Regions from separate parts of the Homo sapiens genome. Here all the other regions are linked to region 1. Evidence: promoter capture Hi-C in 16 types of primary human blood cells and fetal thymus (Javierre and others, 2016). All regions are on one chromosome and are shown on one strand. Each heading gives the region's core, a stretch centred on a gene start or on the middle of the fragment in contact. The rest is flanking DNA. Distances are from core to core; before and after follow the strand shown. Region 1 holds the start of SUCNR1 (succinate receptor 1). Region 2 overlaps MED12L (mediator complex subunit 12L). Region 3 overlaps MED12L (mediator complex subunit 12L). Region 4 overlaps MED12L (mediator complex subunit 12L). Region 5 holds the start of P2RY14 (purinergic receptor P2Y14). Region 6 overlaps MED12L (mediator complex subunit 12L).

Region 1 (3,838 bases), core at 1,169-3,668:
TTCCTTTTTTTCTGGTCATAACGTTTATCTTTCTGCCTAGTCACCACTGGTAATGTTAATAGCTTATGTATTGTGCACAGCAGAAAGATTTGACTGCAATGGAAGGAAAATATAGCCACAAAGACTTGTGCAACTAGAGCCTGATTTCCTGCAACTATCACTCAGGCAGGTGACGGGTCACATGAAAGTCAAGGAGCATTCTGCTTTATAGTAGCCCAGAAGGTCGGGGATTGAAGGAGTAGTAGGGAAGGAGTAGAGCTGAAATAAGAGAAATGAATGACTAAATTATCATATTTGTCTTTCTTCTCATACAGTTGTTTCTTCATTTTTTTGAAACAACTTTTTAAAAATGTATGTGTAAAATTATTGTTAAGGTGTAACACTCATAAAATCAAATAGGCAAAAATAAGAAATAAAAATGGTCTGTAAACAGACCACTCCTAATATTTGGGTACCCTTTTACATTTTAATATTTACCTGAATTTTTATTCATAAAAATGAGATTTTTTTATGATGTTTTATAATTTTTTGATACATTTGTTTCATTTTTTCTAAGTTCATAATTCTAATAGATTATGATTTTATAAATATGAGCTGTGCAATATTTGCAGACCAATTTAACTTCACTAGGATACAAAATTTTGAAGATACTATATTTCAAATTGGATATGTTTATAGTTGGGTATGTTTTTAGTGTGGCATCGCAATTCTATAAACATATGAAGTAAGTTGCTCCTTTAAGCAAAACTCCCAATTAAAGAGAAAATTCCCTCATGAAAAATTCATATTCTCTCTTCTGCTATCTAGTGGCTATATTCTTAATTTTTAGGAAATGGAAATAGTGATAAATAAATTGTAACTGATTTGGATGAATTATTTTGAATAGGTATTTTTTAAGAGCAGAAATTAAAGTGAAATCTTTAGTTTCCAGTCCAAAAATATATCTAAAACTGTTAGAATTATTGAACTAGAAGCAATATCTAATTTACTCACATAAGCAGACCAATAATACTTAACTTGAAAATGTTTTTTACTTTAAATATATTCAGCCTTTTGAAAATCTGCATTTTTGAAATTTACTTTAAAATATATATGTGATAGTTTCTTAGCTTTTTAATTGTTTGTTTTTATAGTCATCACAATTAAACAAATAACATTTGTAAAATGTTTACTTTTAAGTGCTACCTTAAGGCAAATTTACATGGTAACATGAGAATTTTTTTTAACAAATTACTTTTTTGATTACTAAATAATTTGAGCAAAAATATATATTCACACTGAAAAGATATAATAATTTAACATTTGTAACTTTATTTTTATGTATTCCATACATTACACCAGAAATTAAGGTATTAAAAAGTAATAGTATGGCACAAATTGTGTATTAACTTCTTTAAGAATACCACACACATTTTGAAAAGTTATGGAAGGTAGAATAGAAATGGTTTCTGCAATTTTTCATTTTTCCTAAGTAAATTAATTATTGGGTAATATCATTTTTACACACATAAATGTTAAATTTAATTTTTAGGATGCCTGAAAATTCCCCCAAATACATTATTTTCTAAACATAAAAATATTATGCCCCAGCACAGTGGCTCATGCCTGGAATCCCAACACTTGGAGAGGCCGAGATGAGTGGATCACCTGAGGTCAGGAGTTTGAGACCAACCTGACCAACATGGTGAAACTCCATCTCTACTAAAAAATCCAAAAAAAATAGCCGGGCGTGGTGGTGGGCGCTTGTAATCCTAGCTACTCTGCAGGCTGAGGCAGGAGAATTGCTTGAACCCCAGAGGCGGAGGTTGCAGTGAGCCAACACATGCTGTAAATGTGTCACTCTGGCACTCAGACACTCTAGCCTGGGTGACAAGAGTGAAACTCTGTCTTAAAAAAAAAAAAAAAAAAAAAAAATATATATATATATATATATATGTATGTATATGTGTGTGTGTGTGTGTGTGTGTGTGTGTGTGTATGTATCAAATACATGATTGTTTCAAATCATTTAGGAACTTTAATTTTTCCCCATAAGTAGTTATATTTATTTAGGTAAATCCAATTACTATTTTGTTGAAATATAAGTTGTTGAGATGTTAGCAAATATAATAAATCCTTTTACATAAAATAAAATTAGTATTTGACAACTAAAAGAAGACAGTTAATTTGTTGAAAAATAAACGTAGAGATAAAAATGACTTTTTTTTTTCAATTATTTTGCTGTTTTACATCTATTTATAAAGAATTAATTTAAACACTTAATACTGAAAACCTTAATTGCTCACAGGTCACCTTTAGAAGGAAATCTGGCCTTACTTTATACACTGAGAGGCACAATTTGCCATGTAGCTTACCATTCTGTTGGAAGACTTGATCCCTTGACAGGAACTCTGCCAGCAGCTGGATATAGCTTCTGACCCAGTGTTGTGCCACTGGACATGGTTATTACAGTGTCCTATTTGCATATCCTATTTGCATATCCTGCAGCCAAGATTAATAATTCAAAAGCCCAGGAATAATTTATTCAGTCAAACCTCCCAGTCAGAGATGTTCATGCAGAGGAATTTTTGTGAGGCTTTTATTTTCACATTCACATTTATTTTATTTTCACATGCAGTTTTGCAATTGAATGACAAAAAACAAGTAACTCATTTCACAGGAAACACATTTACCAAATAGATTTTTAGAAAAACACTGTTGAACTTATTTTATCCACTACCAAAGCAACAGAGAAGCATTCCTTATTTTCATTTTATTTGCATATTTACACAATAAGAAGTGGTAAATACTGCTTATATTGGGAATACAGTTGCCTCTGCTTTTCTTCTTTTTTAAAATTAATTTTCTTAGTGAATTCTGTATTGAGAATATAATAACGAAACCTCTGTTTTCAATAACTTTGAGGGAACTATAAAACTGAAATTTTAAAGGGAAACCTGGATATATGCTATGTTGGTGTACTAGCAAAAAGATACTAGAGCTTCAAGTTATTTTCCATTTTATTTTCTGTGCTTAAAATCAAGAAACACATAAAAGATACATCAGATAGCTAGGGATTAGGGAGAGAGATGCTAAGTAAAATAACCTTAATAGATGGCAATTTATATATCCCAATCAATGCTCTGAAAAACATCTGGAAGTACATTACCACCATTTCAGACAGGAAGCACACCTGGCTTTTTCCAAGCATTATATTAGGTTTAGATTCAAGTAAACACTCAGTCTTCTTGATGTGAAGCATAGGGATTATACTAAGAAAGCCCATAATTGTGCAGGCAGCAGTAATTCAATTTAAATGCTATGTAAGTTGAATATTGAGTTAGCAATGACAGGCAGAAGCCCAAAAAGAAGCTCTGTTACAGGCATCCTCCTAACTAAGCATTTCTCCTCACCAATATCTGACAGCTTAAAAACTCAGGAACTCAAAATATATGTATGTATATATACACATACATATATACATACATATGTGTCTATATTACACACTTTATATACATGTGTAAAATATATTTATACATGTATGAATATTTATGTATACAAACATGTGCATTTACATGAAATAAAAATATCTATAATTTGTTGAGTTCTTGTGATGTGGCAGGCAGGTATTACACTAAGTACCTTTATGCATCAAATGCATATAGTAATCCTCTGAGGTTGTTATTATTTAAGATTTTTCTCATTTTGCAGATTAAAAAGCTAAGGTTCAGAGAGGTCAATTAACTTTCTCAAGATTGCAGAATCAATAACGGGAGGGACCAGAGCTTAAGCCTATGTACTTGGATTCTAAAAGCACCGACTCTGATTCTTGACTGCCTACAGAATTGAATGACAATAC
Region 2 (4,318 bases), core at 1,461-3,960, 550 kb after region 1:
GATGCCACTAAATCCATATTACCTCTACTGAGTACATTACACAATCACAAATAGACTATAATCATGTAAATAACTGCATCCAAGCTACCCTTGTTAAACAGCCAGGTATGTCTGGTGGGGTAACCTGTGTATTTTGCCTCTAATGACAATTTCAATCTCTACTTAATGTGGGTACACCTAAAGTATACAATTTTTGGGAAAGATCTTTCAAGATAAATTCCAAGACCAAATCTGTCATCCATAAATACAAATATTTCATTCCATTATAATATTCCACTCAAAGGCAGAGTGCCTGATCTGTAGAATAAAATAATCTATTACATCAAGAACGTGGTGAAGAGGCATAGTAGAGAGATCTTAAAATCACTTTCACAAAATGAAGAACTTCCTAAAATCACTTTCACAAAATGAAGAACTTCCTAAACTAGCAATCACAAATACTAAGTTCTAAAATATTAAAAAAAACAAGATGCTACAATATAGTCATAAATGATACACCAAAAAGAATAAAAGAAAATAATAGCTTTGGACTGATAGAATATGTGAGCTCAGAATACAAAGGCTTTTGTCAAAAGTTAAAATGTAATTACTTGTACAAATAAATAGGATAAGATCTTCCCAATAACCTTCAAGAAAAGAGAGGGGTTGAAGGGAGTGAAGTTCCCACACTCGGAAGAATTCTTGAGAAACCAAGGAAGATAACTGTAAAGTGGAAAGGATGAGGCAGAGAAGGAGTGAGAATTCTCAATTCATGGAAGCCAAAAGGTAGATAAAGTCATTATGTCATAACTTATAAAACAATCATTCAATCTTATTAATCCCATTATTTCTTACATTCCATATCCATTTAAAAGCTTTTGCCTTTCATAACTTTCCAAGGTATTCTTTCTAAAATACTTAACTCTTACCCCGACATAAACTGTATTCCTTCAGCAAATTAACAAATCAAAGTTCACACAGATATTAACAGAATATCCAGAGCAAAAAAACCCAAAGTCAGTATTATCTATTATTTAAGAAAAAACATACTTAGAAGACAGTAGCCCTACTAAGGAAAGTGCAGAATTTACAAATCATTTGAAGCACCCAGAAACACATCTCAACATTTGAAATTTTACATAGAAACCAAATGTAGGAAATATGAATACAGAACACATGTGCCATATTAGTTTGCAAATTTTAGTGGCTACCGGAATCGGCTGGAGAGATTCTCCAAATACACATTGCTAGAACCATCAAAACAACAAAGCAGCACATCTGTCTCCTTTAATAATCCCAGGCAGGCTATGAAATGCTTATTATCTTCATTTTAGAGATCAAGAAGTTGAGAAACAGAAAGGCTAAGTAACTTGCATGAGGTCACAGAGCTTGCCATCTGCAGGAATGGGGCTTTAATTGAGACGTGGCTTCTAAGCCCATATTCTTAACAACTGTATTTACAACCTCAGGTCTAATTTTCTCAAGTGAATTCACAATTCCAGTCTCCCATGCTATATTTCCTGTTATTTACAAAACTTCCGTAGCCACCCCCATGCTCCCTGACCCCACAAAAACGATACGTTTCTGTGTGGGTAGTAACCAGCCCAGATGCTGCCAGGTAATAAGCCCTGACCTAGAGGCTAACAAGAACCTCCCAGGACCTTACCCAAGCAGCTCACACTCATTTCCTGAATGCCTGCTGTGTGCCAGGCTCTTTACAAAGATTATCATTTTTCTAATTCTTACTACAATCTTATGAGACAAATACTACTAGGCTCTCTAGTTAAAAATAGGAACAAAACTGAAGCACAAAGTAAACATACACCTTGCCCATGGTGCACATCACTCACCAACAAATGGGGCAGAGCTGGGACTGAAACCCAGGAAGGTGGTCTCAAGACCAGCACCTCAACTGCTCTGGTCACTGCCTCTCTGTCCTGTCAGACTTAGCAGAATTCCTCAAAGGCCCCACTAGGGAGAATGAGGAGGCTTCTTAGAGGGGAAGAGAGAAGTCTCAACACGAATGGGCTTCAACAACCTCAGGGGTATGAATGGTGCAATAGTGGCACCTACAATTACTTCAGGGGTCCCTCCAGCACTTGAGAGCTCAGGGGGAGTAAACTCCCCAATAGTGGATTCATTTGTTCATTTAGCCAGTCATTCCTTCATCATCAACTTGGGTACAGGGCCTTTTGCATCTCTAGAAGGTGAACACTGGTAAGGAACACAGATTATAATGACTCAAGATGTGATAAGAGGTGTGAGAGACACACCACAGAAGTTCAAAGGAATAGGCAATTCATTCCACATGGAGAAAATGAAGAAGGGTTCACAGGAGATGGAAATTTGAACTGGAACTTGAAGAAAACAGAGCATTCAAAAGGGAACCCTGCGGCACAATAAGCAGTTTCAAGGCAGGCTCAGGTAGGGGTGGAACTGTGCTGTGGTTGGAGCGTGAGGGTTGCAGGGGGCCTGAGCCTACAGCACATGACATAGGGAATACATTTGGGACAGAGATGCAGGACTGTACAGCCAAGCACTGTACTGGGACATCTAGTCTTCACTAATGAGTCGTTGAAGGTTTCTAAGGTGAAGAACCACATGTTCTGGGCTGTGCTTTAGGAAAATCAATTGACCAACTATAGGATGATTCTAGACTGAAGGAAGAGCCAGTGAGGCCAGGTCAATTAAAGAGGCTTTCCATGTATGCAGGCAAGAATGATGGGGAAAACATCTGACATGGACCTTCCAGACATTCTCAGGGAGAGAGGTTTTAAGTTCAGAGTCCAAGACCATTGAAAGTGGGGGACTCTATGTAAAACATGTGGTTAACATGTAAAATATATTAGCAATGGGATCCATAATGCCTCCACCCCCTTCTCCTCGAATTGAGGGTTGATTTCTCTCAGGACCGTTAGCTTGAACGATTTGCTAGGTCATCATCACAGAAGTGGATTTGGGGTATGTTCCATTTGAGGTATCAGTGAAAGAGCTAGGGTCAAAGAGCCCACAGCTGGGCCAAAATATGGACCCAGGCTCCAAAAATAGGACTAAGATTAGAGGTCTAGGGAATAATCTTTTTTGAGACAGGGAGAGAAAAAGGAATGAGATGAGAACCCCAGAGGCCATACTACACAGGTCTCATGGTCACAACAGACAGAAGAGGAACAGGGGATGATGCCTTGGAACTGGGAGGAGTGGGTAGTGTTAGTAGAAAAGGAGAATCAGGAAGTCCAGTGTACTGAATACCAAGGAACAAGAGAGATTCAAGGAGGAAGAGATAGCCAACAGAATTATACACTCTAAATTTAGTCAAAAGTGATGAATCTACAACTATAAGGTCAACGATAACTCTGAGGTGGAAGTGGGGTGAGCTCCAGTTTGTGAATGGGAAGTGAGGAAGTAGAAGCAACCCTTATCTTCCCATAATGGATAAGTCAGTTTAAAAGAGTTCCATGGGGCGCCAGATGCAGTAGCTCACACCTATAATCCCAGCATTTTGGGAGGCCAAGGCAGGTGAATTGCTTGAGCCCAGGAGTTTGAGACCAGCCTGGACAACATGGTAAAACCGCAACTCTACAAAAAATAAAAAAATAAAAAAAAAATTACCTGGGCCTGGTGGCATGCACCTGTAGTCCCAGCAACTCGGGAGGCAAAAGTGTGAGAATCACTTGAGTCCAGGAGGTTGAGGTTGCAGTGGGCCATGATCACACCACTGCACTCCAGCCTGGATGACAGAGCAAGACCCTGCCTCAAAAGACTTCCAGGGAGAAACAAATCAGCTTTTATATTAGTTAGGCTTTTCCCAGGGATTTCTATGAACATGTAGAATAATTCCTTTCTATGCTATGATGTGCATAGTGAACATGTTCCATGTGAAATAGCTAACAGAGAAGTACAAATCAAACAGTTGGGTGCAACCACACAGGCCAGAGAACTCAGCCTTGGTCAGAAACTGGGTGTATCAATATTTTCAATATCCATGTAACCCGGGTTTCTGCTTCCTTGCCTCCATTCTCATTCTAATATGAAGTCCTTATAGAAAAAAATAAGATGGGAAGAAAGGAAGTCAGAGGAAAGGAGAGATGGGGACACTAAGAGAAAATGGTAGGAATGGAAGTTGAGACAATTGGGGGGAGTGATAAAAGGGAAAGAAAAAGGCAAGATAATATGAAAGAGAAAGGAAATTAAATTTAAGACTTAAGGAAGTAAACTAGTTCTTTAAAAATTACATAACTTACTCAGCATGTGAACTTTTGCCACTCTTGTAATACAACTCAAACTGACAAATATAACATCCTGAGGCATAATAACAGAATGTCCACCTTTATTTTTGAAC
Region 3 (4,047 bases), core at 1,254-3,753, 510 kb after region 1:
AACAATAAAATATTCCTTCAGCAATAAGATGTATTGACAGGAATCAAATACTACTATCATTATCAGGTCATGAATTTTAAGTCTAAGATAGCAAGTAGGTTAACTGCAGAATTTACAGTACCTTTTTATGATTAATTCAGTTCTATTTTTTTCATACCAGGAAACATTAGATAGCATTTATCAAGCTGAACCTGAATCTAATACAATCTGTAATAGAAACCAGGTTTCCTACTTTTAATGCACATTGATTTAATGTTATTCAGTGAGGGTACTGGTCATTTTAAAAAAACTCATTAACACATGAAAAAGTTACCTGCTAAACAGCAAAATTGTTTTTGTGAAAAAAGAGGAAAAGTAAACACAGTCTGAAAAAGTTCTAGAAAAGTGAATGGGGCTATAGAACCTTCTATGAGTCACCAGGAAATAAAAAATGAAACACTGTAATGCCCAAAGGATATTAAAGCTAATCCAAGTAATGCAAAAAGTCAGCTCAGAAAAGGTAGATATCAAAATCAAGAGGGATACAAATAAAGCAAAATACAAAGAGCTGCCTCATTGATCTTTCTATTAGATTTATAATCCAAATTGAATTTTAAACTTAAAATGGAAAGATATATCAAATAATCATTACTTCAGTAGGACTTACTTAAAATGCACTGTCTGTACAACATATAGAAAATGTAAAATCTTAAGAAATACTTTATTTATTGAAGAAATAAAATCAGACCTAACATCATTTCAATATTGGGGGAAAAAAAACCTATGATCACACATTTACATTGTGTAATAGACTATCGTGTATTGTCCCTGTCTATTTTAATATTCAGTTTAAACAAATCATGAGTATATCAAAATTACTGCCTAATAGATACAATTGCAATTAGCTTTCATTATTCAAAAGGATGACAATATTGTCAGGGTCACTAACAAACATAGGCATGATCCTATTTCTGTCCTTTTGAGTCTCTTCTACTCACCTGAAGAGGTCTCCAAATTTACTTCTGAGGTGGCTACATGACACATAGAGATCATAGAGGTAGGCTAAAATGCATCTTTCAGGGGAAGAACATTCTGAGGGGTTTACGACATGCTTGACCACACCACACAACCTGAGGAGAAAAATATACGAAGAAATAAGACATAGATTTGTACTATGTGGGTTATCATTTGACTCTTTTAGAATGAAAATATGTATCACTTGGGTAAGAAAAAGGATATTGGATTGTTGAAACTAATAAATAGAATAGTAAATAACTCAGTACAATATAATTTTTCTATTATGACACTGAAATAGATTTTAAAAAAAACTTCAGAAATGTCACTGATGACAAGAAACAAAAGCAAGGAAAGAAATTCCTTCATAAAGAAGGTACGTATGGAGGAATCCACCGATTAAGTTGCTGGGACTGAGACACAAAAGGAAAACTGTTGTAGAGAGCCCCTGCCTCCGCAGATTCACAAATTCCATCAGCGTGCAAAGATTCCCAAGTTTTCTCCTTTGTAAAGGAGCAATGCTTCAAAGCAGTCAATCTGGAAAACCCATTTTCAAGTGCATAAGCAGTTCATGGTTTGGAGTCACATTCCCCTTATGCATGTATACATTCCCCTATGTATACCAACTAGTAATAAATTTATTTTAGTTTATCTTATATAAGAAGATAAAGCCCCTTCTGTTTTGTAATATTCTGTATAACTCCTGTAGTTATAGGCCTCTTTGTCCACAGTCCATACAACACAGAAGTCCATACACCACAGCTGTAAACACTTGTGGTCCATTCACCTATCTGTGCATCTGATTCCATCACCATCTTGTATTTTGTTACAGGGCTCAGCCATTATATTACACTAACGGAGTCACAGATGACAGATTATTAAAGACGAAAAAAGCTTTAGAAACTATCTGATTCACCATCCTTATTGTATAAAGGAGGCTCTGAGAGGCAGAAAGGTGGGGTGACTTGCTCAAAGGCAAAGAGCTAGTTCTAGCAGAAGCAAGACAACAGCTTAGGTTTCCAGACTCCCAGATCAAACTCCTCTGTACTATTCAGGGGAAAGGGCAAAGTGGAGAGAACATAGGATGTCTAGGCCAAGGAGGACAATGGAATCACAGGTACCATAGGTGGAACCAAGGAGACTTCTTGAGGAAATGGCAATGTAGTATCCCAAACCCTGTGAAATGACATCAACAGATGGGACTACCTAGCAGCAGGTAAAAGCTGCCAATTAGAACAAAAGTGTCACACAATTAAGAAGAAAAGTAATGATTCAACCTGTTAACTATATAAACAAGCAAACCAAAAACTATGCAGCCATAAAAAAGAACAAAATCATGCTCTTTGCAGCAATATAGATGTAGCTGCAGGCCATTATCCTAAGCAAACTAATGCAGAAACAGAAAGCCAAGCACATATTCTCACTGTAAGTGGGAGCTAAGCATGAGGTACACGTGGACATAAGGATGAGAACAACAGACACTGGGGACTACTGAAGTGGGGAGACAGAGAGCAGAGGAAAGGTCTGCAAAACTACCTACTGAGTACTATGCTCACTTCCTGATGGTTTCAATCATAACCTGAAACCTCAGCACCAAGCAATATACCTTTGTAATAAACCTGTAATAAATCTGTTCTAAAATAAAAGTTAAACAAAATCCTGATATTATCTATAAAGCGAAAAATTATTTTGTGACTAAAGTAAATAAACATTTATTCAGAGTCTGTTAGGTTTAGGTATCCATCGTATAGTAGTCAGTGTTTCCTCAACTTCTTTGATTTGCAAGCAATAAGAAAAACATTTCACATCGTAATCCAGTGTACTGTTCACATAAGTACGAAGAAGTGAAATAATAGTTTTAAGCATAATACTTACCCTTACTAATATAAGGTAAAAATACAACAAAGTTAATGTCAAATATGATTTTATGAATATTTAACAGGATAAAAATTTTCAAGGCCAAACTAAATGATACTGAAATCAATTTCAAAATAACAATATTAAAAACAAAAAACAAAAACAAAAAAACTTGTCACAACCCATTAAATTCATTTCATGACCAACTAATGGGTTTCAATATACTATTTTAAAAGTAGAACATAGATTAAACAGCATGAATAAGCTTCCAGTTCGAAAGATTTTTATTAAAATCTGTGAGATTTATTAGCTATGTGATATAGGGTACATCACTTCACCAAACACTTAACAGGCCTGAATCTCAATTTCCTGGGCTGTAAAATAATACTAAATTCAAACTTTATACAGTAGCTGAGTTATTAAATAATTCTCTATTTCCTGAATTCTAATATGTAAATATTCTTACATTCTGATGTTTTTAGGATGTTTCAGATTTCATTTCATAACATGTAATTAATACAAATAAAGGTAGCATTTCCTCTTTCCCAGAATAGCTACTGTTAAATTGATATCATTCTAGGATAGCATATAAATTGATTACATGTGCTAGATTAAAAAAATAAAAGGTACTATAAAACCAAAGAACCCCATGATTCTTTTGAGCTCAGAAGGAAAAACTGAAGAGAAAGAAATAACAGGTTGTCTTTCTGTGTTTAAATAAAAAGCCCTGGAGAGTGGATAAAAAGCAGCTTATGTAAGTTTTTGAGAGCTCATTTACACTAATTTGGTGCCTTAGCCTCAGTCTTTAATGGGGGTGGTATTAGCTAATTCTGTAGCTCAACTTCATTAGTAGAGTAAGCCCCAGCCTACAACTGAAAATGAAGTAATTTGTTCTAGGTTAATTCTTATCAAAAGATATCTTTAATCAAAGAAATGCAATTGAAGAACCAAATTTCTAAGATGATAATGTATGCAAAGCTTATTTGATGTTGAGTCTGCAAACATAAACTGAAATTACATGAATAAAGAAGTTACAGCATTCACTATTCATAATATGCCAGGATGCTGGCCAACATTAACCGTAGAGTGCTATAAATGACTAGCTTTGTACTTAGAAACCAGGGAGAGGGAAGAAAGGCAAGGAGGAAGGGAAGAAGGAATCACACATTATTAGAAAGAACATACTTTACATGCTTA
Region 4 (4,271 bases), core at 1,605-4,104, 580 kb after region 1:
AAAACTAAAAATGTGTCTATCAGGCAATTTCCTTGAAATGTTTCCATGAGAAACTGGATTCAAGCTTTTTAGGCTTACTGAAATCCAAAGATCATTATTATAAAGTCTAGAAAATTAACTGCGTCAGTCATTCTCCCCAGTAAACTTTAATAAATAAAAAGAAAGTAGAGTTTTACCTCTTTGCCTTACATTAAAAAATAATGTGATGCTGGCACCCAAAAAGGAGGGATTCTGAGAGCCTTAATCATTGCCTATGCTGCATTAACCAAAAAAACACTTTCTGACTTCTGCTGTGTACCACATACCGGAGCTGTTCAAGGTGACGTATGGATAGACTGTCTAAACTCTCAAAAGAGTGGATTCTGGGTGGAGAGCATCACTGAAAAATTAAAAACCATTTTTTCCATCTACTACCAAATCAAGTACCTTAGCTACATGTGATATTTGCAAACAGAAGAGAAGGACACACACAGGAACATAAAAAGAAATAATAACTGCCTCTCCACTTACTGCAAACTCTTACACATACTCCTGCCTCCCACATGCCCTTTCCCTGCTATCTCAGCACATATGCAGGGACAAAAGTAACTGCTCACACCAGCCTCAAGTTTGCTTTGTGATTGGACAGAATGAGGTTACCTGGGGTCTCTTTAAGCAACATCAGTGATGGGACCTGAAAGTCTCACATGGTTTTATTTCATGAGAAAGAGTGTGACTTCCCCTAATGGTAAACTGTCCTATAAGCATATTTTACTTTAGCTGCACTTTCCAGAACAGTTCCCAGGAATTCTGCTTTCTATGGTCAATACGTGATAGAATCCAGAGAACAGGGAACAGACCCAGCTGCAGGGGAAGGGGTGGGGGAAATCATGTTTGATAATATCCAACATTGCACATACATATGGTCTCAGCTAACCTTTATTAAGATGTTGTGAAGAATGCAAAGCTCAGAAATGTTAAGGTATGTAGCCAAAGTCACCCACAAGACATAACTCCCAGCAGGGAATTATGAAAGAGGGCAACTCTGTGTGGCCCAGGTGTTCATCTCCAAAGAGCACATGCTTTCTGAATCGTGGAGGCAATTGCTTTAACTGAAAAGACCAAAATGTTGTATTTTAAAATTCCTTCCCAGATGATTTTTTCCTCATTTTTCATTTTCTCCCCAGAAATCAAACCAGGAATAACCTATGCTGAACCCACGCCTCAATCGTCCCCAAGTGTTTCCTGACACGCATCTTTGCTTACAGTGCATCACAACTGAAGAATGGGGTTCAACTTGACGCTTGCAAAATTACCAAGTAAGCCGTCGTAAGAGATACAAAGAAAATCTTACTTTATTGATGACTATTATTTCCACTGTTTGGGAATTTGGGGAGTTTAATGGTCAGAGAACCAACTAACAAAATAAACCAGCATTTAGCTTTGTGTTTCCTTATGTATAAAACAGCAAACATGCAGGACAGTATCGCTGAGATAAATTTAGCTTGCTATCATTTTGTTTTAAACTTTGTTTCATCTAGACATCATCTCTAAAATGACAAGTAGGATTAAATTAATAATATTTATGGAAGATTTTAAACACAAACTAAAATTACGTATTACTTTCCAGATTTAATAGTCTAAACCAAGGTTCATGAGGTTCCCCAAGAGGCCAGAGATAACATCTACCTAATCTACTGGGTAACTATTTGGAAAATGATCATACCTAAATACAAAAAATTAGCCAGGTGTGGTGGCGCACGTCTGTAGTCCCTGCTACTCAGGAGGCCGAGGCACTGGAATCGCTTGAACCCAGCAGACAGAGGTTGCAGTGAGCTGAGATCGCACCACTGTACTCCAGCCTGGGTGACAGAGCAAGACTCTGTATCAGAAAAAAAAGGAAGAAAGGAAGAGAGGGAGAGAGAGAGGAAATAGAAAAGAAAAGAAAAGAGAGGAGAGGAGGGGGAGGGGAGGGGAGGGGAGGGGAAAAGAAAAGAAAAGAAAAGAAAAGAAAAGAAAAGAAAAGAAAGAAGGAAGGAAGGAAAGAAAGAAGGAAAGAAAGAAAGACCGACCTAGGCAGCTGTGCCCTGGTAGTGACACCCTATAATTTGAATGACTTTTATTATTTCATTCCCACCTGGCAGGTAGAGCAGTGACATATGTTGAGACTTTCACATTTTGTGCCAAGTGTCACGTCCCAGTGAACAATGATGTAGCTTCACCAAAGGCAAAAGTGGCAGATTCTTCCCTACTCTGTCATTCATAATGTGACTCTATTAACAAGAGAAATGGTAATTAAGCTTTATGTTATAGAATGCATACCTACTAAGTACTAGATACTGTAGTCAAAATGTTTGCAAAGCATTTAACTCTCAGAAGATCCAGCAAGACAGCTATGTATTCCATTTTACAGTTATTAAGAGGCTAAACCAGCATTGTCAAATAGAACTTTCTGCATTGATGAAAATTCCCTGTATCTGCACTGGCCAATACAGTAGCCAGATGTGGTTACCGGGAAACTTGAACGTAGCTAGTATGACTGAGGAAATTAATTTTTTAAATTATGTTTAATTTAAATTTAAAAGTTTAAAGCCACATGTGGTTTGTGCTATATCTGGCTACAAAGCCCAAGCATTCCCCAACACACACACTCAGTCCTGTACACACACATGCACAAACCTATTCCCCCCGGCAAAGACAGCCAAAGTTCCCTTACGTCCCAAACAAATACCACCCTCACACATGGCACAAAATAATTTACTATGGAACTAGTAAACTGAGTTATGTCACTGCATTTGTTAATTTAAAAGGAATTGGAATGAGAGTCAGAGAGAATACCAAAGTAGGTTTTACTCTCAATTATCGCTCTGTGTCAAGCCCTGCACTATACAATCCAGAGAATACCACCCTAGTAAACAAGAAGAAGGGATGGGGAAATCATGTTTGATAATATCCAACATTGCATGCACATATTGCGAGAAAACAGCCTTTACACTGTAAAACAGCTTCTAATTTTTCTTAACTGAATGACCAAGCTACTGTCAATTAAAGATGTTTCCTAACTTGGCCAAGTTCTTTACTGTCAGGGAAGAACAACATGATAAAACTGCCTGGGTGAAGAAAGCCATTCACTTTTACTGGTCAATATTCCTGAGTGGAAATATCATATAGAGAAATGCTTCTGAGTACACCTATACGTTTTGGAAATATTTAAGGCAATGATAGAGAATAAATGATGGGCATTAGCTGGCAAAAAAGAATGTGATATAAACTTAATTCTAAAAAACAAATTAATCACACGAAACTCTCAAAGTTAAGTTTTGAGCCTTCCAGAGCAACCAGATGAGTAATGGCTCATCTGCTTCTTACAAACCATTTTTTGTCTCTACTACCATATTGTTTCAGCAAATAACCCATAACAGGCTTTAACCACTAATTTGTTTAAGCTTTGCTGCCTAAATGTGAAATTTGTGAATGAAGTAATAACCAGGAGAGTAATAATATATATATATGTATATATGTATACACACACACACAACCTTTTTTGACATTCTGATTGGAGACTATCTTTAATAATAACCATAATTGTTAGGCAAAATCATCATCAATATCATCATTTAATAAGAATGTGTTCATATAATTAAACTTTAAAATATTATAATGATATATGGAACTCATATCCCTAAGCAACACTGTGAAGTAGGGGTTCTTGCACTCCACGATAGGTATGCATAGCAGATCCCCAGGGAGCCAACACAAGCAGTTGAAATATTCCCTGCCAAGTATGCTGTAGCTCATGAACTAATATATTTGTATTTAAAATGATTTTGAAAAGCAATTCATAAGTAATTGTTACAAGGCACAGCCAGCACCTCAAGAGATGACATGGCTGCTCCTTTTCAGGCTGTGTCCCTCAGCTGGACCCTTTATTCCGATTTAAACTCACATGTCCTCTCTCTATTTCCCTAAGAGTTCTATCCCAGGTTAGATGAAAGTGACTGCTAATCATTTAATTGGGTAAATTAATTCAAGCAGACATCTTAACTCAGTTAAAGCCACACATCTTAAGAAGTTCCTAACGTCACTGATACTGATTTGGATCTTATGATGCAAAAACAGCCAAGACTACAACACGTCATTAAATCAAAATAGGCTTGAATGATACTGTACAAGGAAATATTACAAACTGGCAGCAGTGATATAGATGGCTGCTGAATCAGGCATTTTAACTTGTAAAGCTTAGTAATACTATGGGTCTCATAACAGGCTAGTCCAGATATAAATTACTAGCC
Region 5 (3,979 bases), core at 1,238-3,737, 590 kb after region 1:
ATACAGGGCTCACATGAACAAGTCTCCAAGAGAGCAAGTGGGGATGAGGCCGGATGCGCTAGTGTCTTACTCACTATGCTCAATAAAGCAACCAGGGAAAGGCAGGGGAAGGGCAGTAACAATGAAGTTGTCTCTGTACTTACTTTAAAGAAAAATGATTTCAAAAGACATATGGTAACAATTATGCATAGGTGAATTCCGGGGTAAGGAGCAAAATAGGACATTTATGGAATCAAAATGTAAGCCAGCCAGCTATTTATGCGCAGTCGATGACGGCCTGGATAGAAACTGACTGGAAACAGTTACAGACATATTTGGGGATTACGTGTGTTAAACTCATTCTATTTGTAGTATGAATACACAAGGGATGTTTATATATAACCAGTCCTATTACTAATAAGGCAGAGTCCTGTCTCTAAATGGTATTGGAGAATGTGTGAGCACGTGGGGTGGGCTAGGGGTGGTTGTCATATCAGGGTTATGTTGAGGGCTCTGAGAAAAAGATTAGTCAGGAGGAAATCACAGTACTTTAATCTTAGGATTCCACCAAAGGAAATGGGAATTCAGAACTATTTAGCATAAATCAAAACACCACAGATAAAAGGAAAATATTGACTATTTTAGATTTTGTTTTTTAAAAGATTCTTGCACACAAGGACCAGGCCCTCTATTATTTTAATTATAATGTCGTTATTGGCTATGTTGTATTATGCCTGGTGTCTAGTGTTGAAAAGAGTCATTACCTACGTTGCTAAAAGTCATAATAAAATATCTTTTTATTTTTTATTTATTTATTTTGAGACAGAGTCTCACTCTGTTGCCCAGGCTGAAGTACAGTGGCGCAATCTCAGCTCACTGCAACTTCCACCTCCCGGGTTCGAGTGATTCTCCTGCCTCAGCCTCCTGAGCAGCTGGGATCACAGGCGAACTCCACCATGCCCAGCTAACTTTTTTTTTTTTTTTTTTTTTTTTTTTGTATTTTTGGTAGAGATAGGGTTTCACCATGTCGGTCAGGCTGGTCTGGAGCTCCTGACCTTGTGACCTGCCTGCCTCGGCCTCCCAAACTGCTGAGATTACATGCGTGAGCCACCGTGCCTAGTTTAAAATATCTAATTTCAAAAACATATGAAGATAGAATAAATATTGTCAGGCTAAAATATTTTTTCAAACATTAATACTTACTTCCAATTCTAATAAAGGAAAATGTGTACAAGCTAAACTGTGATTTAAGCATATCCACAAAATGTACAGCACAACCTAAAGACTACTTCAAAGTCCAGTCCTGCTACTTTCTAGCTTAGACAACTGTTAAATTTTCTGAGGCTCTATTTTCTTACTTGTGAAAAAAAGGAATAGTTACTTCTCCAAGGGTTGCCAGGTGTTTTGGCTGTGAAAAGATCTAGTAGGCACAGAGTACGCTTCAATCGAGTGTACGAGTATGTGCATTTGAGACGATCCAATCTTTCCAGATGAGCTTTCCTTTCAAGTGCCTAGCTGTCTGCCCCCTACCCACCCCTCACCATCCTTGTACTGCTACGTGCCAATAAAACCACAGAACAGAGGTCACAAGCTGACTGCTCACAAGCCCAATACAGTGCACACTCAGGTTTTGTTTTAGCCCACAGGGTATCAGGTCTACACTGGTTTGTAAGGTATTCGATTTAGACACCAACAAATGAAATCAGAGGAGACATATAAAGGCAGTAGCAGTGCACAGGCTCCAGGATCTGCCCAGCTCCAGCAACCTGATGTAACATCTCCATGCCTCAGTTTCCTTGTCTATTAAGAAAAAGGTGGGGAAGAAGTAGTAGACAGACCTACTTTACTCATGGAGCCATTGTGAGTAATCAAGCTAAAACACACAGAGTGTTTAGAACAGTACATGCAAATCAGCGTTTAATGTTCTGAAGACACTGGCCCATCCCAAGATGAGGCCCATGACTCTGGCAAGCTTCCAGACACAACTGTCCCCCTGGGTGGGCCCTTTAGCTTTCCATTTCTCCATACTCCCTCTACTCCCAAGTGTCTTACACAGAGTCCAACCCATTTGTACCACCTGCCACGAGGGGACCACCTGTAGGGCTATCCTTTTGGCCTTGGACTTTGCAACTCCTGGCATTAAGAGGCAAGCAAGCAGCTCCAGTCAAAGAAATTATCATGTTCTCCCCAGTCATACTCAATAACATCTATGTGAAACACCCCACGGGGAAGTCAAGAAGCAACAAATTATCATGTTCTCCCCAGTCATACTCAATAACATCTATGTGAAACACCCCACGGGGAAGTCAAGAAGCACAAAAGGGACCCGGAACAATTAATGGGTGTTTTTGAGACTGTCAGAGTAAACAGCATCTCCTGCAATAAATCAGGGAAGTCTTGAGAGTCGCACCTTAGAGATACGGTTCCTGCCAAATCATCAATTTAATCAGCAAAATGTTTACATCTGGAGGACTCTGCAATGTGCCCTGGTAATAACCAGGCTCTAGCGGCTCCTCCTCACATCCACTTGTCCTTAAGTTTATTTACCTACCAGATCTCACTGCAGCTGAAGCTAACAAGCCTCTCTATGCACATCAGTATTCTTAGCCCCTCAATCAAAGCATCAGTGAGGACTATTGGGGCCCGCTGGGGGTCTGAAGAAGAGTCCCTCTGGCAGGGAGAAATGGCGAACTTCTCTAAACAAGCTCTGTGTCTCACAGGTCTTTGCCAAGGATCAACAGTGACTAGCAAGTCTGTGAGACAGAAAGTAAGAAAATACTCTTCATGAGGGAAATAACTGTTTGGGTATGTGTCAGTCACTACTCCATCTCCAATGTCCAGAACACTGCCTCCTACGTAGCAAGTACATATAAAGCAACTAGAATAGTAACGGGCATGTCATAAGCCAGTTATAATTATTATAACTAAATGTATAGCTATGTTTTTAAGGCAAGCTGAACTTTACTAGTTGTTACCCATAATTTGGCAATGGAACAGCCTAAGTAAATACACTTAAAATGCAGGAACCTTATAAAGTAAGCTTTTCAGCCCCTTGTCTTCTTTCTTTCTGGTTCTGAGTTATACACTTTGAAGAGGACTTTGTAGCCATCTTCTGAAAACTTCCAAATCTAATGGCACTAATAGTCAATGGGAAAGACAGTGGAGCACTGCAGGACATCACCAATTATATTACAGAGCCTGAAAGGAACTAAAAATATGAAGACTTTCAAAATAGTAACACAGCACAAACACCAAAATGTTAACACACGAGGAGTTTATCTGAAGTCCTACTTGTGATCTATTTATCAGTAATGTTCAAATATGGGAAAATTAATGTGGGAAAAATGACAATGCAACACCTCTTATCTAGAATATGTCGACATTGGTGTCAAAATACTTCTTTATTCTGTTAATTCCGCATTTCCAGGTAGCTCCAACTACCCATCTCTGCACGTTATACTGTGAAGCTGCTGACAATTTTCTGAGGGTGCTTCAGAAAGAACCATATCTTACACATCAGTTCTCCACCTCATACCACATGTTGAATTTGACAATGGCAAAGGTTAGAAAAGAAAACAGGTTTTTGCCTGGCTGTGCATCAGATGATGTAGGGATGTGGGGAAAAGTAGGAGGAGAAATAAGAAAGCAGGACTGTTTTTGCATTACTGGAGGAAAGGAACTAGCTCAGAAGTCAGCCTAACACCCACAGAGATTAAAACGTCTCTTCCTTCCTCTTTGTTTCCACGTCCCAGTCTTCAATAAATTCTATCTGACAACAGCAGCAGAGGGACCCACTATCTTGTGGTTTCTGTCAAGTTCCTGATTTTCATCCGTAGTTGAAGATGAGCAAGAACTCTGTAACAGTGTTACCTTGGAGCCTACAATGAGAGGTATTTCAAAATGAGTGAAGCATGACTCTCACAGATGAAGGCCTAGACGCAGGTAAGAAAACAGCTTTTCCATGAAATGACTTGCATGTATGTGAATGGTGCATGGGAAC
Region 6 (4,245 bases), core at 1,378-3,877, 530 kb after region 1:
AAGTAATATTAATAATCTGAGATAAACACCCAAAAATTACTCTTGTTTATTCCCTCAAGGATACAGTTGTTGGACAAGGAAAAGCATCAACTGGAGAGTCTGTTACAGGAGACGTCAGGCTACCTCTTTTATCCTAGTCCACCTGCTGCTATTGAATTGAATGTGTCATCTCCCATGTAAACTAAGTTCTAAAAATCTCGTCCTTTAGATCAATTACTTTCTTTCTCCAGATATTATCTCATACTCACAGAAACTTAATAGATGAAGAAACTAGAAACATGCATGCCCAAAACCCTGGCAGGCTTGTTGTACTACACGAATTAAAATATGTCTCTTGAGCCAAATGTCCTTAGAAAGAAGAAATGGAGTTAAAGGAATTGAGGTCTGCTCTAATTCATCTTTATTTCTTTAAAATAACTGATTAGAAATTTTGCCAAAATGTGTATGTGTTGACAAAGATGTCATAATGATGGTAAGATGATCAGAGCTGTGTATTATCCTTTCACCTTACTCACATTTTCTGATATTTCAACAATGATTCAATTATCATAGAATTTTTAAATTACTAATGTCCTTAAGGAAAAATGAAAAAGATCTCACTCAGAATGCGCTTCCTTTCTTCCAAACACTAATAAAAACAGATGAAGTGGATGTAATTGTCCTTCTGATAAGACAAAATATGGCACTTCATACTTCCCAGTACTTCCTAATTTTTGCATGCTCTACTTCAAATGCAAATCCAGTATATATCCGGAAGTAAACTGCACATAGCAACCTATCACGTCTCTAAGAAAAGCAGTAAAAACCAGTCTTTAGAAACAATAAATGCATTTAGTTAAAATTTTTAGCTTATTAAATAACTCTTAAAAGATGCCTTAAAACACTATTTCTTTCAGCTGTATCTTTCAATATACCATGCTATTTTGTTTAGAATAAAACAAGTTCATATAAATGTTCCATCAGGAATAAGCTTCGAGCCTGGGAGGAAGAATGGGTGTGCACATGGATGAGGAAACTGTTACAGGAATGAAGAAATTAACAGGTTTTTTTTTAATCATTAGTAACTATACATAGAGTATATTTTCTGTAAATCAAGAAAATAGGAGGCGGATTTAACTACATTTGTATATTAAATCTTTGTTCTACACAGCTTATAGTCCACAGTATGACTGATATTTATATATCTACTAGTCCTCTTCTTGCAAGCAGAACACTTAAGACTGGGATGTCAGATAACTAGGTCACAAAAGACGGCATTCATTTTTGCGAAATATTTCAATGCCCAAGACTCGTTACTTTTGGAACCTGTTGGTATCTAACCTAAATTTCTATATTCCAATGGATAAAGCCAAGCTAGCAGACATGACTATGCACTGCTTTAAAATACACACCCTCAAACAAAATATTAATGTCAAAATGACCACATTTAGAACCAGAGACCACTGGAACTAAAACAGCCTAAGAGCTATCAAATGTCATAATTATATCTCTATCCTCCTGCCCAGTTCCAAAAGACTACAGGTTTCAGAGTAATCCCATTTGAAGCAAACATTTTCAGATGAGCAGACTACCTTTAGTAGACTTGGTAAAATAAACAAACCAGTTAAGCCACTTAAAAGTAAAAATTCTGTTCATTTTTCTAACTCATCTCAATTATACAAAATAACCAAACCAACCAAAGTTAGCTCTGTTCCCAACACTAACACAAATAACTACAAACTGTATGTGTTGATGTTATTTACTAATGAGAGATTAAAGTATCTATAACTTGCTCTGCTTCTATTCATATGAAAATATACTTCTGTAACTGAGATACTTTTCACTTAAAGATTTTAGTCACTTTCAGCATTAAGTGGTCTAACTGGCAGTCTTCCTCCAATGAAAAAATGTTATCAGAGGTGGTTTGTAAATAGGTATGTGGTTGTGAGTTAAAAATCAGAGGAAAAATAAAGTTAATTTAGATCAAGAACTGAAGCCCTTCTTTTATCCCTCAAATCTCTACTGTTAGCCCTTCTAGAGGTTTAGAAATATAAATTCTCAATAAGGTAGTATGACTTAAGTATTCTGAATTAGTAATATGGCAGATTGATTTGTTAAAAATAATCATTTTCTTGAATAAGCCTTGTTTCATTTGATGGTCTTAGAAAAAGCATCATAAACATCCTTTAGCATTTACAATTTGCTGTAAAGGAGAGTATGGTCCTTATTTTATTGAAAGACGTACAACCATCCCACACGAGATTCACTTCTCACTACTGGGGCCTCTTAGTGGGAGAGGGGTTGAGGAGAGGGTGTGATAGGGAAAGATTCTCAGGTACAGAAATACACAAATACAGATTCTAAGGCTAACTAGACAGCACAGGTCAGAATGGGGTCTCCATCTAACTTCACTGCTCTGCTCTTCAGTTCCCCTCATCCAGAGAATGAGGATGATACGCGTACTTCAGAGAATAGTTGAGATTATTAATAAAGTGAGTTAATCCATGACAGTGTAAGAAATTAAATATTGACAATTATTATTTGAAGTACATACAGCATAAAAGCTCTTTTTAAAATTTTGAGACTCCAACAAATAAGGAAGGCTAAGATTTGTTTACAATAGTCATATTTAAAAATAACAATACAACCCTTTCCAAGAGTTTAATATCAAACTAATCCCTTTAAGATGACCAACATTTGGGGATTATTATGTGTCTGAAGTGACTGATATTAATAGCTTCAAGTTCTAAATGGCAACAAAATTCTTATTCCATTTAAATCAGTGGTCCTCACATTTGAGTGTACCAAGCATCAATGGAAGGCTCACTAAAATACAGATGCAGGGTGGGGCACCCCAGAGTTTTTTATTCACTCAGCTAGATTGGTGCCCAAAAATGTGCATTTCTAGCAAGTTCCCAAGTGATGCAGAGCTGCTGCTCTGCACTGTGAAAACCAATGAAGATATTTAACATGTAAAGACATAGACAAATACTCAAAACGCAGAAGAAAAAACCAAAACGTGTTCACAGCAAAGGCACCAACACAAATGATTCCCACTGATAACAGAAGGACACTGCAGTTTGAGACACCAGGGAGGTGTGTTTCTGCAAAGCAATATTTACATAAAGTTAAAGCAGCACAGGTGTTGGAGAGGATGTGGAGAAATAGGAACACTTTTACACTGTTGGTGGGACTATAAACTAGTTCAACCATTGTGGAAGTCAGTGTGGTGATTCCTCAGTGATCTAGAACTAGAAATACCATTTAACCCAGCCATCCCATTACTGGGTATATACCCAAAGGATTATAAGTCATGCTGCTATAAAGACACATGCACACGTATGTTTATTGCGGCACTATTCATAATAGCAAAGACTTGGAACCAACCCAAAAGTCCAACAATGATAGACTGGATTAAGAAAATGTGGCACATATACACCATGGAATACTATGCAGCCATAAAAAATGATGAGTTCATGTCCTTTGTAGGGACATGGATGAAATTAGAAATCATCATTCTCAGTAAACTATCGCAAGAACAAAAAACCAAACACCACATATTCTCACTCATAGGTGGGAACTGAACAATGAGAACACATGGACACAGGAAGGGAAACACTACACTCTGGGGACTGTTGTGGGGTGGGGGGATGGGGGAGGGATAGCTTTAGGAGATATACCTAATGCTAAATGACGAGTTAATGGGTGTAGCACACCAGCATGGCACATGTATACATATGTAACTAACCTGCACATTGTGCACATGTACCCTAAAACTTAACGTATAATAATAATAAAATTAAAAAAAAAAAGTTAAAGCAGCAAAACACTTTGCCCTTCAATCTCACCCCTAACATATTTTTTGCCCTTCTGGTTTCAAAGTTAAACAACTGTAAATAATTGTGATACAAGGATGCCTTAATTTAATGTTATATTTTCCCAAAAACTCAAAGTTAGGTAAAGAAACAAAAAAAAATTGTTTATATTTAAATTCTATTCAAGAAAAGCATGAACGACACAGTATATAATAAGCCTGGCAATGGATACAATCACTTCTCTAATGTAATTTTGGAATCTGCTAATTTATAATAGAAGGAAGCTGTTTCACCTACAAAGGAGTTAATCAAACACAGGTTTAAAATAATGACATTATTAACCAAGGGAAAAACAAAGGGCCAGAGACTTAACATCCCTAGCCAGCACGCATTTTGAGTTAACATAATTACTTGTTAGAAGAAAATACATCACCCAGTGTTGTACACAATA

Evidence for each region. The method cuts DNA at HindIII sites, captures the fragments that hold promoters and counts their contacts. A CHiCAGO score of 5 or more calls a contact.
Region 2: a contact is called between a fragment that was not itself captured here and the fragment with the promoter of SUCNR1 in region 1, in 5 of 17 cell types (M2 macrophages, monocytes, M0 macrophages and 2 more). The highest score is 9.9, in M2 macrophages.
Region 3: a contact is called between a fragment that was not itself captured here and the fragment with the promoter of SUCNR1 in region 1, in 2 of 17 cell types (M2 macrophages and monocytes). The highest score is 5.6, in M2 macrophages.
Region 4: a fragment that was not itself captured here is called in contact with the fragment with the promoter of SUCNR1 in region 1 in 5 of 17 cell types (M0 macrophages, M2 macrophages, M1 macrophages and 2 more); the score reaches 9.2 in M0 macrophages.
Region 5: a fragment that was not itself captured here is called in contact with the fragment with the promoter of SUCNR1 in region 1 in 4 of 17 cell types (M2 macrophages, monocytes, M0 macrophages and 1 more); the score reaches 10.5 in M2 macrophages.
Region 6: a contact is called between a fragment that was not itself captured here and the fragment with the promoter of SUCNR1 in region 1, in 3 of 17 cell types (M2 macrophages, monocytes and M1 macrophages). The highest score is 5.9, in M2 macrophages.

Annotation. Positions count from the first base shown.
Region 1 is chr3:151,872,223-151,876,060 of GRCh38, reverse strand. It overlaps SUCNR1 (succinate receptor 1), which reads right to left and starts at 2,418. Exons shown (of 3, transcript NM_033050.6): 1 at 2,355-2,418. All of the region lies in intron 1 of AADACL2-AS1 (AADACL2 antisense RNA 1), which reads left to right. The HindIII fragment of the contact is 8,098 bases long and covers 1-3,838 here.
Region 2 is chr3:151,321,619-151,325,936 of GRCh38, reverse strand. The region is part of intron 16 of MED12L (mediator complex subunit 12L); the gene reads right to left. Among named protein-coding and RNA genes, the nearest start is that of P2RY13, 5.8 kb to the left of the region's middle. The HindIII fragment of the contact is 3,707 bases long and covers 857-4,318 here.
Region 3 is chr3:151,357,536-151,361,582 of GRCh38, reverse strand. It overlaps MED12L (mediator complex subunit 12L), which reads right to left. Exons shown (of 45, transcript NM_001393769.1): 21 at 978-1,109. All of the region lies in intron 1 of P2RY12 (purinergic receptor P2Y12), which reads left to right. Among named protein-coding and RNA genes, the nearest start is that of P2RY12, 25 kb to the left of the region's middle. The HindIII fragment of the contact is 1,228 bases long and covers 1,890-3,117 here.
Region 4 is chr3:151,297,094-151,301,364 of GRCh38, reverse strand. All of the region lies in intron 16 of MED12L (mediator complex subunit 12L), which reads right to left. It overlaps GPR87 (G protein-coupled receptor 87), which reads left to right. Exons shown (of 3, transcript NM_023915.4): 2 at 1,167-1,298. The coding sequence starts at 1,265. Among named protein-coding and RNA genes, the nearest start is that of GPR87, 18 kb to the left of the region's middle. The HindIII fragment of the contact is 1,146 bases long and covers 2,282-3,427 here.
Region 5 is chr3:151,278,229-151,282,207 of GRCh38, reverse strand. The region is part of intron 16 of MED12L (mediator complex subunit 12L); the gene reads right to left. P2RY14 (purinergic receptor P2Y14) reads left to right here and starts at 3,666. Exons shown (of 3, transcript NM_014879.4): 1 at 3,666-3,921. The HindIII fragment of the contact is 1,068 bases long and covers 1,954-3,021 here.
Region 6 is chr3:151,341,113-151,345,357 of GRCh38, reverse strand. The region is part of intron 16 of MED12L (mediator complex subunit 12L); the gene reads right to left. All of the region lies in intron 1 of P2RY12 (purinergic receptor P2Y12), which reads left to right. Among named protein-coding and RNA genes, the nearest start is that of P2RY13, 14 kb to the right of the region's middle. The HindIII fragment of the contact is 3,309 bases long and covers 973-4,245 here.